Regions from separate parts of the Homo sapiens genome. Here all the other regions are linked to region 2. Evidence: promoter capture Hi-C in 16 types of primary human blood cells and fetal thymus (Javierre and others, 2016). All regions are on one chromosome and are shown on one strand. The core of a region is centred on a gene start or on the middle of the fragment in contact, and the rest is flanking DNA. Distances in the headings are between cores, read along the strand shown.

Evidence for each region. The method cuts DNA at HindIII sites, captures the fragments that hold promoters and counts their contacts. A CHiCAGO score of 5 or more calls a contact.
Region 1: a fragment that was not itself captured here is called in contact with the fragment with the promoter of MAP7 in region 2 in 2 of 17 cell types (megakaryocytes and M2 macrophages); the score reaches 8.4 in megakaryocytes.
Region 3: a contact is called between a fragment that was not itself captured here and the fragment with the promoter of MAP7 in region 2, in 1 of 17 cell types (megakaryocytes). The highest score is 5.4, in megakaryocytes.
Region 4: a contact is called between a fragment that was not itself captured here and the fragment with the promoter of MAP7 in region 2, in 1 of 17 cell types (megakaryocytes). The highest score is 5.1, in megakaryocytes.
Region 5: the fragment with the promoter of SLC35D3 here is called in contact with the fragment with the promoter of MAP7 in region 2 in 9 of 17 cell types (total CD4 T cells, endothelial precursors, erythroblasts and 6 more); the score reaches 14.4 in total CD4 T cells.

Annotation. Positions count from the first base shown.
Region 1 is chr6:136,275,709-136,278,408 of GRCh38, reverse strand. It overlaps BCLAF1 (BCL2 associated transcription factor 1), which reads left to right. Exons shown (of 13, transcript NM_014739.3): 4 at 1-544; 5 at 1,901-2,566. Among named protein-coding and RNA genes, the nearest start is that of BCLAF1, 13 kb to the left of the region's middle. The HindIII fragment of the contact is 6,928 bases long and covers 1-2,700 here.
Region 2 is chr6:136,549,128-136,551,827 of GRCh38, reverse strand. MAP7 (microtubule associated protein 7) reads left to right here and starts at 1,406. Exons shown (of 18, transcript NM_003980.6): 1 at 1,406-1,486. The coding sequence starts at 1,420. MAP7-AS1 (MAP7 antisense RNA 1) reads left to right here. Exons shown (of 1, transcript NR_186370.1): 1 at 1-1,105. RefSeq lists silencers at 1,105-1,454, 1,495-1,674, 1,685-1,734 and enhancers at 956-1,493, 2,032-2,570. The HindIII fragment of the contact is 6,247 bases long and covers 1-2,700 here.
Region 3 is chr6:136,238,589-136,241,288 of GRCh38, reverse strand. MTFR2 (mitochondrial fission regulator 2) reads left to right here. Exons shown (of 8, transcript NM_001099286.3): 6 at 1,469-1,823. Among named protein-coding and RNA genes, the nearest start is that of MTFR2, 10 kb to the left of the region's middle. The HindIII fragment of the contact is 756 bases long and covers 1,053-1,808 here.
Region 4 is chr6:136,255,722-136,258,421 of GRCh38, reverse strand. BCLAF1 (BCL2 associated transcription factor 1) reads left to right here. Exons shown (of 13, transcript NM_014739.3): 13 at 1-1,795. Among named protein-coding and RNA genes, the nearest start is that of MTFR2, 6.8 kb to the right of the region's middle. The HindIII fragment of the contact is 5,895 bases long and covers 1-2,700 here.
Region 5 is chr6:136,920,856-136,923,555 of GRCh38, reverse strand. It overlaps SLC35D3 (solute carrier family 35 member D3), which reads right to left and starts at 1,255. Exons shown (of 2, transcript NM_001008783.3): 1 at 689-1,255. The coding sequence starts at 1,127. RefSeq lists an enhancer at 1,727-2,233. The HindIII fragment of the contact is 1,879 bases long and covers 143-2,021 here.

The DNA of each region.
Region 1 (2,700 bases), core at 101-2,600, 270 kb after region 2:
GACGAGGGTCTCAGGAAAAACAAACCAAAAAAGCTGAAGGGGAACCCCAAGAAGAGAGTCCGTTGAAAAGTAAATCACAGGAGGAACCGAAAGATACATTTGAACATGACCCATCTGAGTCTATCGATGAATTTAATAAGTCATCAGCCACATCCGGTGATATTTGGCCTGGCCTTTCAGCTTATGATAATAGTCCTAGATCACCCCATAGTCCTTCACCTATTGCTACACCACCTAGTCAGAGTTCATCTTGCTCTGATGCTCCCATGCTCAGTACAGTTCACTCTGCAAAAAATACTCCTTCTCAGCATTCACATTCCATTCAGCATAGTCCTGAAAGGTCTGGGTCTGGTTCTGTTGGAAATGGATCTAGTCGATACAGTCCTTCTCAGAATAGTCCAATTCATCACATCCCTTCACGAAGAAGTCCTGCAAAGACAATCGCACCACAGAATGCTCCAAGAGATGAGTCTAGGGGCCGTTCCTCGTTTTATCCTGATGGTGGAGATCAGGAAACTGCAAAGACTGGGAAGTTCTTAAAAAGGTAAAAACTAAAATACAGAATCTAGATTATAATATTGTTTTTGTTCTTTGAATTCTGTTTGGAATTATAAACGTAAAATTGTGATATGTATTTAACTAGCGGTTTTTACTCTTGACTTCCTTCATTTTAAGATAATTCCAAATTGTTTTTACTCTTATCTGGTGAACTTTGGAAGCTAAGTGTTTTAATAAAAATTAATTTATCCAGCTACTCAGGAGGCTGAGGCGGGAGGATCTCTTGAGCCCAGGAGTTCAAGGCTGTGGTGAGCTATGATTGCGCCTACTGCACTCCAGCCTGGGCGATAGAGCAAGACCCTGTCTCTTTAAAAAGAATTAAAAAAACCTAATTTCTATCCCTCCTCTTAATTTTACCATTTTCGGTCCAGAATTAAAAATACAGATGAGGAGAAGTTGAGTAGCTTAGAGCATAACTAAATGATATATGTTGCTAATAACTGTAAACCTTTTAGAAATTAAGTTTCTTAAAGCATTGAAGGCTTATTTTGTTCTTTTCACTATTAGAATGTGACCTACATAAATAATGCAGCTATATTGCATGTTCTTAGGTGGCATAAACAGTCTGGCTGTCAATATTTAATGATTTCAGCCTGACTATACAAAAGGTAATGGTATTTCTCACTGACTAATGACATTTGAAACAGATACATTGTTTAAATTCTGATTTCAAGTGTTGCTGAAAGTTGCTAACAGTGAAAATTGGTTGCTTCATGTATTGTGATTTGACTTAAAAGTGAGAAAATAGAGGAAACATGCTGTTTGTGGAATAGCACTGCACAATCTAGAATTTATGATTGAACTGATCATTAGTTTCTATGAAATAGTGCCAGAAATCATTATTTTTCTAGAGCAAGTTTATATGAACTGTTCTGTGATTTTCATAAAGTATTAAATTACTGCAGTGGTAATTAAATCCATTTGTGTGAACTCTTGTTTATATTAATAGATAATATCTGGAATTTTGGGGATAATTATCAATAGAATTCTAACAATGTATTATCTATTAGTGGTTCTTAGTTTCAAAAATTAAATTTAGGCAATCTCTAGAAGTTCGTGTTAGTGCAGAATTGTGGATTGTGACTAAATAGGACAGGTTTTTGTGATTGGCTTTGTGTTTTAAACTTCAGAAGTCAAATGTAAATTTATTTTAAAAGTCAGTACATAAGTTCTATATGGATGCTTTCAATGATTTTTAAAAGTGGAATCTGAAAAAGCACTTTTCAATAGGGTTATTTTCTCTCTTGCTGGTCCTGAGGGATTGGGCAACACATTTAAATATGGAAGCGATCTACAGTGAATGCAATCCAGAGTTACTATCCTCTTCTTTGCTTATTCGCAGGTTCACAGATGAAGAGTCTAGAGTATTCCTGCTTGATAGGGGTAATACCAGGGATAAAGAGGCTTCAAAAGAGAAAGGATCAGAGAAAGGGAGGGCAGAGGGAGAATGGGAAGATCAGGAAGCTCTAGATTACTTCAGTGATAAAGAGTCTGGAAAACAAAAGTTTAATGATTCAGAAGGGGATGACACAGAGGAGACAGAGGATTATAGACAGTTCAGGAAGTCAGTCCTCGCAGATCAGGGTAAAAGTTTTGCTACTGCATCTCACCGGAATACTGAGGAGGAAGGACTCAAGTACAAGTCCAAAGTTTCACTGAAAGGCAATAGAGAAAGTGATGGATTTAGAGAAGAAAAAAATTATAAACTTAAAGAGACTGGATATGTAGTGGAAAGGCCTAGCACTACAAAAGATAAGCACAAAGAAGAAGACAAAAATTCTGAAAGAATAACAGTAAAGAAAGAAACTCAGTCACCTGAGCAGGTAAAGTCTGAAAAGCTCAAAGACCTCTTTGATTACAGTCCCCCTCTACACAAGAATCTGGATGCACGAGAAAAGTCTACCTTCAGAGAGGAAAGCCCACTTAGGATCAAAATGATAGCGAGTGATTCTCACCGTCCTGAAGTCAAACTCAAAATGGCACCTGTTCCTCTTGATGATTCTAACAGGTAATTCCATATTGATGCCCAGTAAATAATCTGTGGGCAGTCAGTATTCCAGTTAATTATCTTAAACTTTCTGAACATACCATTTTTATATTTAAACCAATGGTATATTTTGTGTGTGTGTGTGTTATCAATAT
Region 2 (2,700 bases), core at 157-2,656:
GAGAGTATTTCTGATGCTCAAAGAAAAGTGTCTTAAACTCTGATGTTTTAATGTAGTTAAAAAAAACACAAAAAATCTTTGCTGAGGCCCAAGCTGAGGTCAAAAACTACCTCTAGCCATCTGGTGCTTTATTTTTATTGATTAGAAGTCTCTGATAAGACTGATTTGAATGTGATTTAGGAATATCACATTCTAAATGGTCAGTTTGCCTATTCCATTATAGAAATGACACTACGGGAAAATTCATCATCACAGACCACAGCAGAAGTGTTCTTTAGTTAAAGCTCTACCTAGTCATCCAGAAAGCCAGTAAGTAAACCAAATAAAAATAGTTCACTGGGCTCAGAGTGGCAAGTTTTGCATGCAAAGATCGTGAAAATTGTAACCCTAACAATAAATCCAATACTGTTCTCGACTCTCTTGTGTGTCCAGTGCTGCTGCAGTCCTTGGAAGGCTTTTAAACTGTTCAGAGCTTGCTGGTTATCTTCAGCCAAGCCAGAGAGTGGGAGTGCAGTGCATTTTAGTGTAACCATGCGGAACTGGTCGCTCCTTGATTTTGTGCCGTATGTTTCCATTTGTGTAGGCTTTTTCCCCCCTCAGTATTTTGTTGCTTATCCTTTAGAGCGAAATTGGTTTTTCCTCGGCCAATAATCTGTTTCTTTAAAAAAAGAAAAATTCGTTACCTATTGCCTTTTTTTCTGGTCTTCCTGAGCAAGCCAGAAGTCACAAGGTCGTTTACTAAACGGAAACTAAGAAAAAGAAAAGCCACATCAGCCGGCACAAGCCTCTCTAACTTGTGTGCCCTGAGGCTCATCAGATGCGAAGTCCTGGCGACAAGATAGGGTCGCCCGCAGTGGCTTCCTAAAGCGCAGATCCAGGCCGGCTCCCAGCGTGGAATCCGACCCATGTACTTCGCCTCTCCACGTGGCATCAGATGCTCTGCCGGCTGTCACCGTGAACTCCAGCCCTCGCGGAGCCGACACTGACCTGGCTACTTCAGAGTTCGGAGGGAAATAGCGTCTCCGTACCCTCGCCCCACCTGGGCTGCTCCTCGGACCGCCGCTCGTCCCAGACTCCAGGAGGCGCCACCAGGCCTCGCTGACCCCGCTCCATATCTCCGGGAGCCCTCAGCTGGTCGGCCGCGGCGACCGGAAGCTCCGGACTGAGGTACTGGTTCCGCCCGCCGCTCTTCCAGCCGAGACTCGGCAGCGGCGGTCGGAGCGGCTGCCACGCCGCACCTGCCCGCGAGGGGGCGCGCCAGGCCCAGGCCGCAGCCGACTGCCGCGCTCTCTGTCCCCGCCCTCCGCCATCCCCGGACTGCGCTCACCTGTCTGGGCCGCTGGCCTGGGAGGCGGGGGCCGGCGGGAGCCAAGCCGAGGAAAGGGCGGAGCGGCTCTCCGGGCGCGTCATCGGAGCACCATGGCGGAGCTAGGAGCTGGCGGCGACGGCCACAGGGGCGGCGACGGCGCAGTGCGAAGCGAAACAGGTGACCGCACAGCGGGGATAGTGGGGGTCCCGTCGGGCAGGGGACGGCGAGCGGGGCCGGCGGGCTGGCACCGAAATCACCCGGCGCCGGCAGCCCCCTCCCCGCCCGCGCGGCCGCGGCCCGGAACAACCGGCCCTGCGCGCCGCGCACCCTGCTCCGAGAGCGCCTTCCCCCGCCCTTCGCCGCCGCGGCTCGGCCAGCCCGGCTCGGCCCCGGCCGGGGTTGCGGCCGCCCTCGGGCGCTCCACCGCGACTTTCCCGCAACAGGTGGAGGCGAGCCGGGGGAGGAAACGGAGAGACCCCGGCCGCTGCCCTCCCCGCCGCGGCCTCGGGTCTAATTCAGTTGAATGGGAAATCGTATCCCCCAGACCAAACCAGTGGCCAGAGAGTCGTCGGCCAGGTGCGACTGGCAGGACGAGCAGTTTCTGGGCACCTCCTCCCGCCTTCCCTGGTCGCCCCGGGTGCCGGGGGCTCCTCAGCGGGGTCGGTGTGGGGCAGGACCGCGGGGTGAGCGGCCCGCCCCCCAATCTGGTGCCCGCAGTGGCGACGACCGTCGTCCGAGGGGACCGAGCTCGGGAGGGCCGGGGCCCAGTGCAGCACGGTGGGGGTTTGCGAGTGCGGGCTTGACGGGATCAGACTTTCGTTGACTTGTCGGAGTTCTCAGAGTTTTTTGTTTTTAGTCTGTGCAGGAGCCCAAAGGAGGATTGTTGGCTCTGCAGCCCGGGATTTGGTGGTCAGGCCTCTGTGTTGAGGATACCCCTCCCCCACAACCTCCAGGGGCACACTTAGGGACAGGGGATCACGTCCCCAAGACCAGCAGCAAGGCTTCCCAAGACCAGCAGCAAGGCTTCCCAACCCCGCCCATCTCTCCATAGTATGAAGCCGATTTTTCTCCCTCGTGATTTTTTTTTCTCCAGAGGCTATCTTGCAAATCCGTCCCTCTCCACTGGTTCCCTCTTCTATTCTTGGCCAGTAAGCTGTTTCTATATCTTCCTACACTTGGGGATGGGGGCAGTGAGGCAGTTTCTTACTTTAAAAAGAAATTCAATTCTTAGACTCTCCAATTGCAAGCTGTTTTCCACTTCCATACGGTCACAATCGGAAGCATTTGTTTCCTAAATGTAAGAATCACTGTCTCCCCACCATCAAGTATGCTTATTTTAACGTGAAAGGTCCAGAGAGCTCTGAAACAGTATTTGCAAATTATGTATCTGC
Region 3 (2,700 bases), core at 181-2,680, 310 kb after region 2:
AAAACATTAAATGTACATAAAAGGATGTTGAATATACAAAATTATTATATCTGATGTTTATTCAGGATAAATTAAGACACATTTGTAGTGAGGGGATGGCTTTGATTTAAAGAAGAACTAGCTTTACTATACTAGAAGATTGTATTTTTGTATTAAAAAGTCTGTTGTCTTCTAAGTAAGCTTTTTTTTTTTTTTTTTGAGACGCAGTCTTGCTCTGTCGCCCAGGCTGGAGTGCAGTGGCACGATCTTGGCTCACTGCAAGCTCCACCTCCCGGGTTCACGCCATTCTCCTGCCTCAGCCTCTCGAGTAGCTGGGACTACAGGCGCCCGCCACCACGCTCGGCTAATTTTTTGTATTTTTAGTAGAGACGGGGTTTCACCGTGTTAGCCAGGATGGTCTCGATCTCCTGACCTCGTGATCTGCCCGCCTTGGCCTCCCAAAGTGCTGGGATTACAGGCGTGAGCCACCGCGCCCGGCCCTCAGTAAGCTTTTCTAACTCTTCATGAAAGCATTGGATATTAAAGAGGAAGAATGCATTGGTTTGAAAGAGGATATAGGTTTGAGGCATCATATGTTTATAGTTTTTAGTTATTGCTGCTACACTTCCACCAAGTTGAGGTGAGTCATGTTTTCCAGATGATTGTTTTATAAATTTATAGAGATACAACTTGCTTTAAACTTATGCACACACATACACACAACATGTATGTATGCGTGTATAAAATGTAAAGCAATCTAGGTACTGAATGCTTTTCACAACAGATTTGGCTGTAAAGGGCTGTGTGTAAATATAATTGCTAAAAATTTTTTAATACATATGTATATATACAAATGCATAAATACACATATAATTTAAGATATTTATACAGTGTATATTTATAACATTTACATATAAACACATTATATAATATACAATAACTTATATTTATACATAATAAATAAAATGATATATAACTATACACAGTTTTCTTAAGCAATCGTGTTTACCCACAGTCCTTTATGAGCAAATCTTAAAGTGGAAAAGTTAAATACTCAGTACCCATCTTAAGCTTTGCTTAGAAAATAATATGCTTATTTCTCCAATGTCATTATACAGTGAATACATCAATTTGTGTTTCTAACTACAAGTTGTTGATTTCTGTTTTAGCTTTTTTAAAATAGAGGATGAAGTTCAGAGTGTATGTGAATTACTGAAAAAACTCTTTTTTTTGTTTGTTTAAGATGCATTCTCCTCCCCGCTCTGCTCTTGGACCTACACTGAAAATTCCTAACTGGATTAAAAATGAATTCACAATTTGACTTGACTCTTAAATTACTAAGCAGATGGGATTGACACTCTTTCCTTGCTACCATATCGCTACTAGCATTACAGAAATTGCTCCTGTTTTGGTTCTAATTAGTGTTATTAATATATATTACGTTAGAGATAATTGTGCATGATTTTGTAATAAACCACTTTGTTTGTAGGTTCCTTTGGCTTGAGTGACGAGCGCATTAGTTTGGGTCAGCTGTCATCATCGCGGGCTGCCCATCTGAGTGTGGACCCAGATCAGCTTCCAGGTTCAGTGCTTTCTCCTCCTCCTCCTCCACCACTTCCTCCTCAGTTTTCATCTCTCCAGCCACCGTGTTTTCCTCCCGTACAACCAGGATCTAATAATATTTGTGACTCAGATAATCCAGCAACTGAAATGAGCAAACAGAACCCGGCTGCTAATAAGACCAATTATAGTCATCATTCAAAAAGCCAGAGAAATAAAGATATTCCAAACATGTTGGACGTTCTAAAGGATATGAATAAGGTTAAGCTTCGTGCAATTGAGCGGTATGTTGTTGTAATTTGAAAAGTGAACTGAAATTTTGTCAATTTTATGTTTAGAAAAATTATTATGTTTATGAAAATTAACATATATGTCTTTTTTCTTATTCTTCTTCACCCCTGAATACCTCTCCTAGAGATAATGACATTCAATTATTTTTGACTATTTCTTCTTCTAGTCTCTTATCACCATATTTTTGAAACAACATACTTATTTGCTATTTCTTGATATTTTAATTATGTTGACTTCCAATTGTAGGATATTAGGAATATATTTTCTTAGATACTCTACCCAGGACACACACACACATCTTGCCACGTCTTCCTGAAATAGTTAAACCACAATCTTTAGTTAAATGAGTATTCAGAATTAATATCCTTATTATAACAGTGAACATCCACAGTAAGCCATTTCTCATATTGTAACCCAGGCTGTAGGGCAGTGTTGAAATTACAGCTCACTGCAGCCTCGACCTCCTGGGCTCAAGTGATCCTCCCACCTCAGCTTCCTTAGTAGCTGGGACTATAGGCATGTGCCACCATGCCTGGCTAATTTTTGTATTTTTTTGTAGAGATGGGGTTTCGCCATGTTGCCCAGGCTGGTCTCTAACTCCTGAGCTCAAGCGATCTGCCCATGTTGGCCTCCCAAAGCGCTGGGATTACAGGTGTGAGCCACTGTGCCTGGCCCCATTTCATATATTTTGACTACATTTTATTTGTTGAATAATTTTTTTAGAGTTAATAATTGCCTCTCTGAGTTCCATGTGTGTGTGTGTGTGTGTGTGTGTGTGTGGTGAAAAAACATAATGAGCTCTATTCTGTTAACAAATTTTTATGTGTATAATACAGTATCGTTAAGCACAATGTTGTACAACAGATCTCT
Region 4 (2,700 bases), core at 77-2,576, 290 kb after region 2:
TTTTGTTTTTGTTTTTGTTTTTGTTTTTGTTTTTGTTTTTCCCTTGTCTCCCCTGGGAAAATGGGAAATTTTACAGTTGGTAAATCTAAGCCAAAATTATTTTGAAATAAAGGAATTCTGGATGTCCAGTTTAGTCCTCGTTTTCTTACGTTAATCTGGGACCTTATCACCCATAATATGGTGATTACTTCTCTTTCTAAAAACATAGTAGCTAGTAAATAAGTAAAAAGAATTGTCTTTTCATTCACTTTAAGTAAGATGTGGTATAATTCTTACCATGTGCCATCCTGTCAGTTTTAACAAAGCATTTTCACAGAAATTTGTGTACTAAGACAAACTGACACATTTTGACTCATACAAATGGCAAATTAGTCCTTAAAAATTCTGTGAGAGAAATAACTCTGTGTGTACATACATATGCATGTAAAGTGTTGTGTAAGATCATTGGTAGCTTAATTATACTGGATAATTGTAATGTTATATACAAATTTCTTATATAAAAGTATGCTGCATTATTAACATTTGTTTAACTTTTCTTATTTTTCTTTTTCTGGGTTTCAACTGGAATCCCATTGGTGGGGATGTACCTTAAGTTTCCTTGTGGAATAATAGACTTTCACATCCAGAAAGAGAAGTTCAGAGGCCTTTCTCAATTTACAGAGTTGAAGAGGAAAGGCAAATGGAGGAATAAACTTCATTGTCATTGGGATTAATTTGGCTAGACTCAATCTCTTGAGCCTTAAAATGAGAAAGTAATATCCATTACATGTTTAGAGTTCTCAAATAGTTGATACTATTATTAAATGTTTCAAATTTTATTGGGGTAGATACTAAAAATTAGTACACTGTCCTAATGAAGTTTAAATGAACAAGTTTTACATTTCTTAGGATTCAGGAATATATGGAATCTAGTTGTATTTAATTGACTTGAGAGCCACAGAGATTGTGTTGATTTATGAGCTGGACTCCTATTGTTTTAGAAACATGCAGTAATGATTAACTTGTGTCAATGATGGTAATGAGACCAAACTTGTACATTTAATTAAGGGTACCAGTTCTTTTTATGTTACTAGACTATACCTTGGCCTTTAAAAATGAATCTCACTGATTAAAGAGAACAGGCATTATTAGGATAGCATTCCACCACAACTAGAAACATTCAAATAATGTGTCTTAATTGTAATCTGTATATAGGAAAATTTTTCCTATGGATATTTTTGGTGTTTTACCACAGTGAACTGATTTGTAGCACTTATGAAGTGCAGAAGGTAATATTCTTGAAAATAGAAAAAGGTTGGGTGAGCAGGCTTTAATGCCTTTCCCCCAAGAATATACATCGAATTTTTCTTAATCTTTTGGGGTTGGCCAGCTTCCAGATTTCATTAATAATGAGCTCTGCCTTTAATAAAAGTACATGATCATAGCTACACTGTATGTTTAGGTGGTGTGAAATGATTTATAATCACAGCTTGAACTGTGTTTGCTTGGTACTGTCATAGTGATTACAAATTTCATGGAATGCGAAGAGCAACAATAAATAAAAAATACCACTCACCCTCCAGAATAGTGGATTATTTGCTACCTTGAGTCCTTCACTATGGAAAATAATTTTTCAGTCTCATTTGTACTAGAAGGGAAAACTAAACTTTCTGTTGAGTTCTCAGGATACTTGTAAGGTGGCCGTGAAAAAGAATGTTAAATGCACTTTGAATTATTTATTTATTTATTTATTTATTTATTTATTTATTTATTGAGATGGAGTCTTACCCAGACTAGAGTGCAGTGGCTCGAGCTCGGCTCACTGCAACCTCCGCCTCCCAGGTGCAAGCGATTCTCCTACCTCAGCTTACTGAGTAGCTGGTATTACAGGTGTGCACCACCACACCCAGCTAATTTTTGTATTTTTAGTAGAGACGGGGTTTCACTATGTTGGCCAGGCTAGTCTAATTCTCGGCCTCCCAAAGTGCTGGGATTATAGGCGTGAGCCACTGTGCCTGGCCAGAATTTTTAAATTTTAATTTACTTCTCACATATCCAGCCTGCAGGTTTAATTTATTTTTTATTTTTTACCTTACCAAAAGATTTCCCCACTCCAGAATTGTTTTTGGAAGAAGTTGAATATCATTACCAAATGTACTTTAAAAAAAGATAGGCCTGTGTGTGGTGGCTCACGCCTGTAATTCCAGCACTTTGGGAGTCTGAGACGGACAGATCACCCGAGGTCAGGAGTTCGAGACCAGCCTGGCCAACATGGCGAAACCCCGCCTCTACTAAAAATACAAAAATTAGCTGGGCTGATGGCACTTGCCTGTAATCCCAGCTACTCGGGAGGTTTAGGCACCACAATCACTTGAACCTGGGAGGTGGAGGCTGCAGTGAGCGGAGATGATGCCACTGCACTCCAGCCTGGGTGACAGAGCTAGGCTCTGTCTCAAAAAAAAAAAGATTACAGTAATTAACTGATTAATGTCAGCATACTATTCAAATGGCTTGAAGATACAGACTTGTAGAGTAATACCACCTCAGCATATAACTGAGGAATCAGATTTTTGAGTAATCGTGTTCAGATACTGCAGTAAGGGGATTTGTCAGCTGGGAGAAATGACTTAAAACTTAATTTGTACTTTTAATTGGAAAATGGGATGTAAAAGTCATGAAAGTCTGATAGAACTTGGAGTGAAAAATCGATGGCTGCTTATT
Region 5 (2,700 bases), core at 6-2,505, 370 kb before region 2:
GGTCACTTGGGCGCGTGGTACCTGCACCCCGGAGCCCCTGCCCCGTGGGGCACCAAAGGGAGAGGGAGCCCCAGCCAGTGGCCTGCAACCCGGAGCGGGCCAGGCGCGGGGGAGAACGCCTGTTCTGGCCCCCAGTGAAGCTTCCCCCTGCCCAGGCTCTCGTCTCGCTCAGCACCTGGGTCGTCTGCCCCAGGGCCGCAGCCCCCTGCGCAGCACGAGACACCCCGCAGTAGCCCCGGGAACCCTCAGCTTCGCCCCCATCCCCCACCTCCATTCCAGCCCCTCGTGACCCAAGGAAGTTCACGGCCCCCTCCTTCCGGCTTGGTCCAGGCTTGGAGGACTCCAGCTCCCAGGCTCAGGCGGCCCTCCCACCTCTCCCGGAGAATGGGGTGACAGGGGAAGACCAGGAGAGGGGGCGACAGGAAGGGCGATGCCGGGTGAAGCATGGGCGAGGGTCGGAAGCCAGGACATTAGGGGGCAGGGGGACTTGGTGGGGCGCTGGGGAGCTCTCTGGGTCTCGGAAGTCCCTTTTGCGAGCTGAGCGACCACTCTCAAAGCTCTCCGGCTCTCTCTGCCTCAGTCTCCCCATCTGGAAGTGAGGTCGTTGAACTCAGTGATCCCCGCGGTCTCTGCCCGACGGAGCGGGGTGGGTGGGGTCGGCTGGGGGTCGGCGCGGGGGCCCGCTCACCTGCCAGGGCGGCGCCGCAGGTGGTGATGAGCACCGCCGCCAGCACCCCTGGCGAGGGCGCGCCGTTCTTGAGCACCAGGACGCCGATGAGCATGGTGACCAGGGGCAGGCAGCGCTTGAAGACCACGTACATGGGCAGGCTGAGGCCGCGCAGGGACCAGAGCGTGAGGCTGGACTGCAGCGTGGAGAGCACCGCGACCCCCGCGAAGGAGCGCGCCAGGCTCAGACCGAAGGGGGGCACGGCGATGAGCCCGAGGCGCCGCAGCAGCTCCAGGCTCAGCGCCGCGGTGGAGCTGGTCAGGCACTGCACCAGGGTCAGGAAGGAGAACTGGTAGCGGCTGATGAGGAACTTGAGCAAGATGTTGAGGGAGCCCGAGAAGACCCCGTGCGCGATGGCCACCGAGATGCCCAGCACGCGGCCCCGGCACAGCTGCCGCATCGCGCCGGCCTCGCCGCACCCAGCGGTGGCGGAGCTCCGCGACCTGCGCGCGAGGAGCCGGGAGCAGCGGAGTGAGGGCGGCGGGGGCGCCCGCCCAGCGCGGCGGCGAAGGGCAGGGGGCGCCGGCTCGGCTGCAGAGGGCAGCTCCGGCCAGGCGTTCTTGCGGTTAGGCAGCTCTGCGTCCGACTGCCCCGCAGCTCCGGGGAGGCAGTGACGAGGGCGGGGGACTCCGAAAAGTGGCAGAGGTGGCGGGGGGGCCGGTCTGAGAGGAGTGGCGGGAATCCTAGCGACAGCTATTTGTAAGTGGGTGATGAGCCGCGGTGGGTTGTGTCCCGCGCGGTTTCACCGTCAGGGAAGACGCTCTGCGGAGGGAAGCGGGCGGCTGGGCGCCCCGGGGCGGCTGCCGCAGGGCGGGACGGGGGCTCTTGGGGCGCGGCGCCCCTCTCCCCCCACAGAGCCAGCGGCTCTCGCTTGCCCCTTCCTCCTGGCCGAGGGGCTTGGGTTGGAGGGATCGGGACACAGCTAAAGATTTTAGAAACAGCGCATCAGGATCGAGCGCCGTTTATTGGTCGCAACAAGTGACGGCGCCCCCAGCCCCCTCGCCCCGGCGCTGCAGCGGCTTTTTCCACCCACTGTCCCTCCCGGTGCAGCGGCGGGACCTCGTCCAGCTGCCCGCCAGGGAAGCGAAAACCGTCGGTGCCGGCGGGCCCCCGAAGCTCCCGATCCCGGCGACGACGCCCGGGCATCGGAGGAGGAACCCGCGGCCCGGGGCGCTGTCCAGGGGGTGCCTCGGAGCCCGGAAGCTGGCTCCTTCCGGTGCCAGGCCACGCGCACCGCTCTCCGCACGCCTTCCAGAGAGGGTCCCGGGATTATGCGCGCGGCTCCGGGGAAGCTTTCAGGGGGTTCAGTGGTCTCGCCCAGCAGCGGGGCCTGGTGGCGGGGACACATTCGAACTGAGGCAAAGATGAAAATAAGCAAACGCGCAGAAACGAAGTCACTAACACGAGTAGCCACCACCAGGAACCGAGGAGCTCGGGGGCGACGCTTCCCGAAGCGTGGGAGGGGAGGCTGGCTGCGCTCGCAGAATGGGAGAGTAGAGGGGGAGGGGGCGGGAACCCGGGGCCCCTCACCCTGCAGGGAGACTCCGCGTGGCGTTCTCCGGATCCCAGGGAACTGATCCCAGGGAACCCTCACCCTGCGGGACCGTCGTGGGTTGCTTTCGGAAGCAGGACAACCGGCAGGCGGAGGGCGGGGAGAGTCACCACCTCCCTGGGCCAGGGTTCACACCTTTGCACCACAGGACTTGTGAACTGTGTGTTTCCTATATGACTAAGAGAAAAAGGGAATTCTAATTTTGGAGAGGGAGTAAGGCTTCGGTAACTCTTTGTTCTGAATTCAGTTCCCTGGAAAGTAACTCGCGCGGACCTGTAGTTAAATCAGCAGCAGCCAAGGGTTTCGCTCAGCCGAGGTAACCGTTAAGCGCCAGACAGTTTGGTTTTCAGGCGATTTGAAATTTGTGGCCTTGGCCAGGGTTTGGCTATAAGGGAAAGGTTCGAGATCGCTGCGCTCCAGC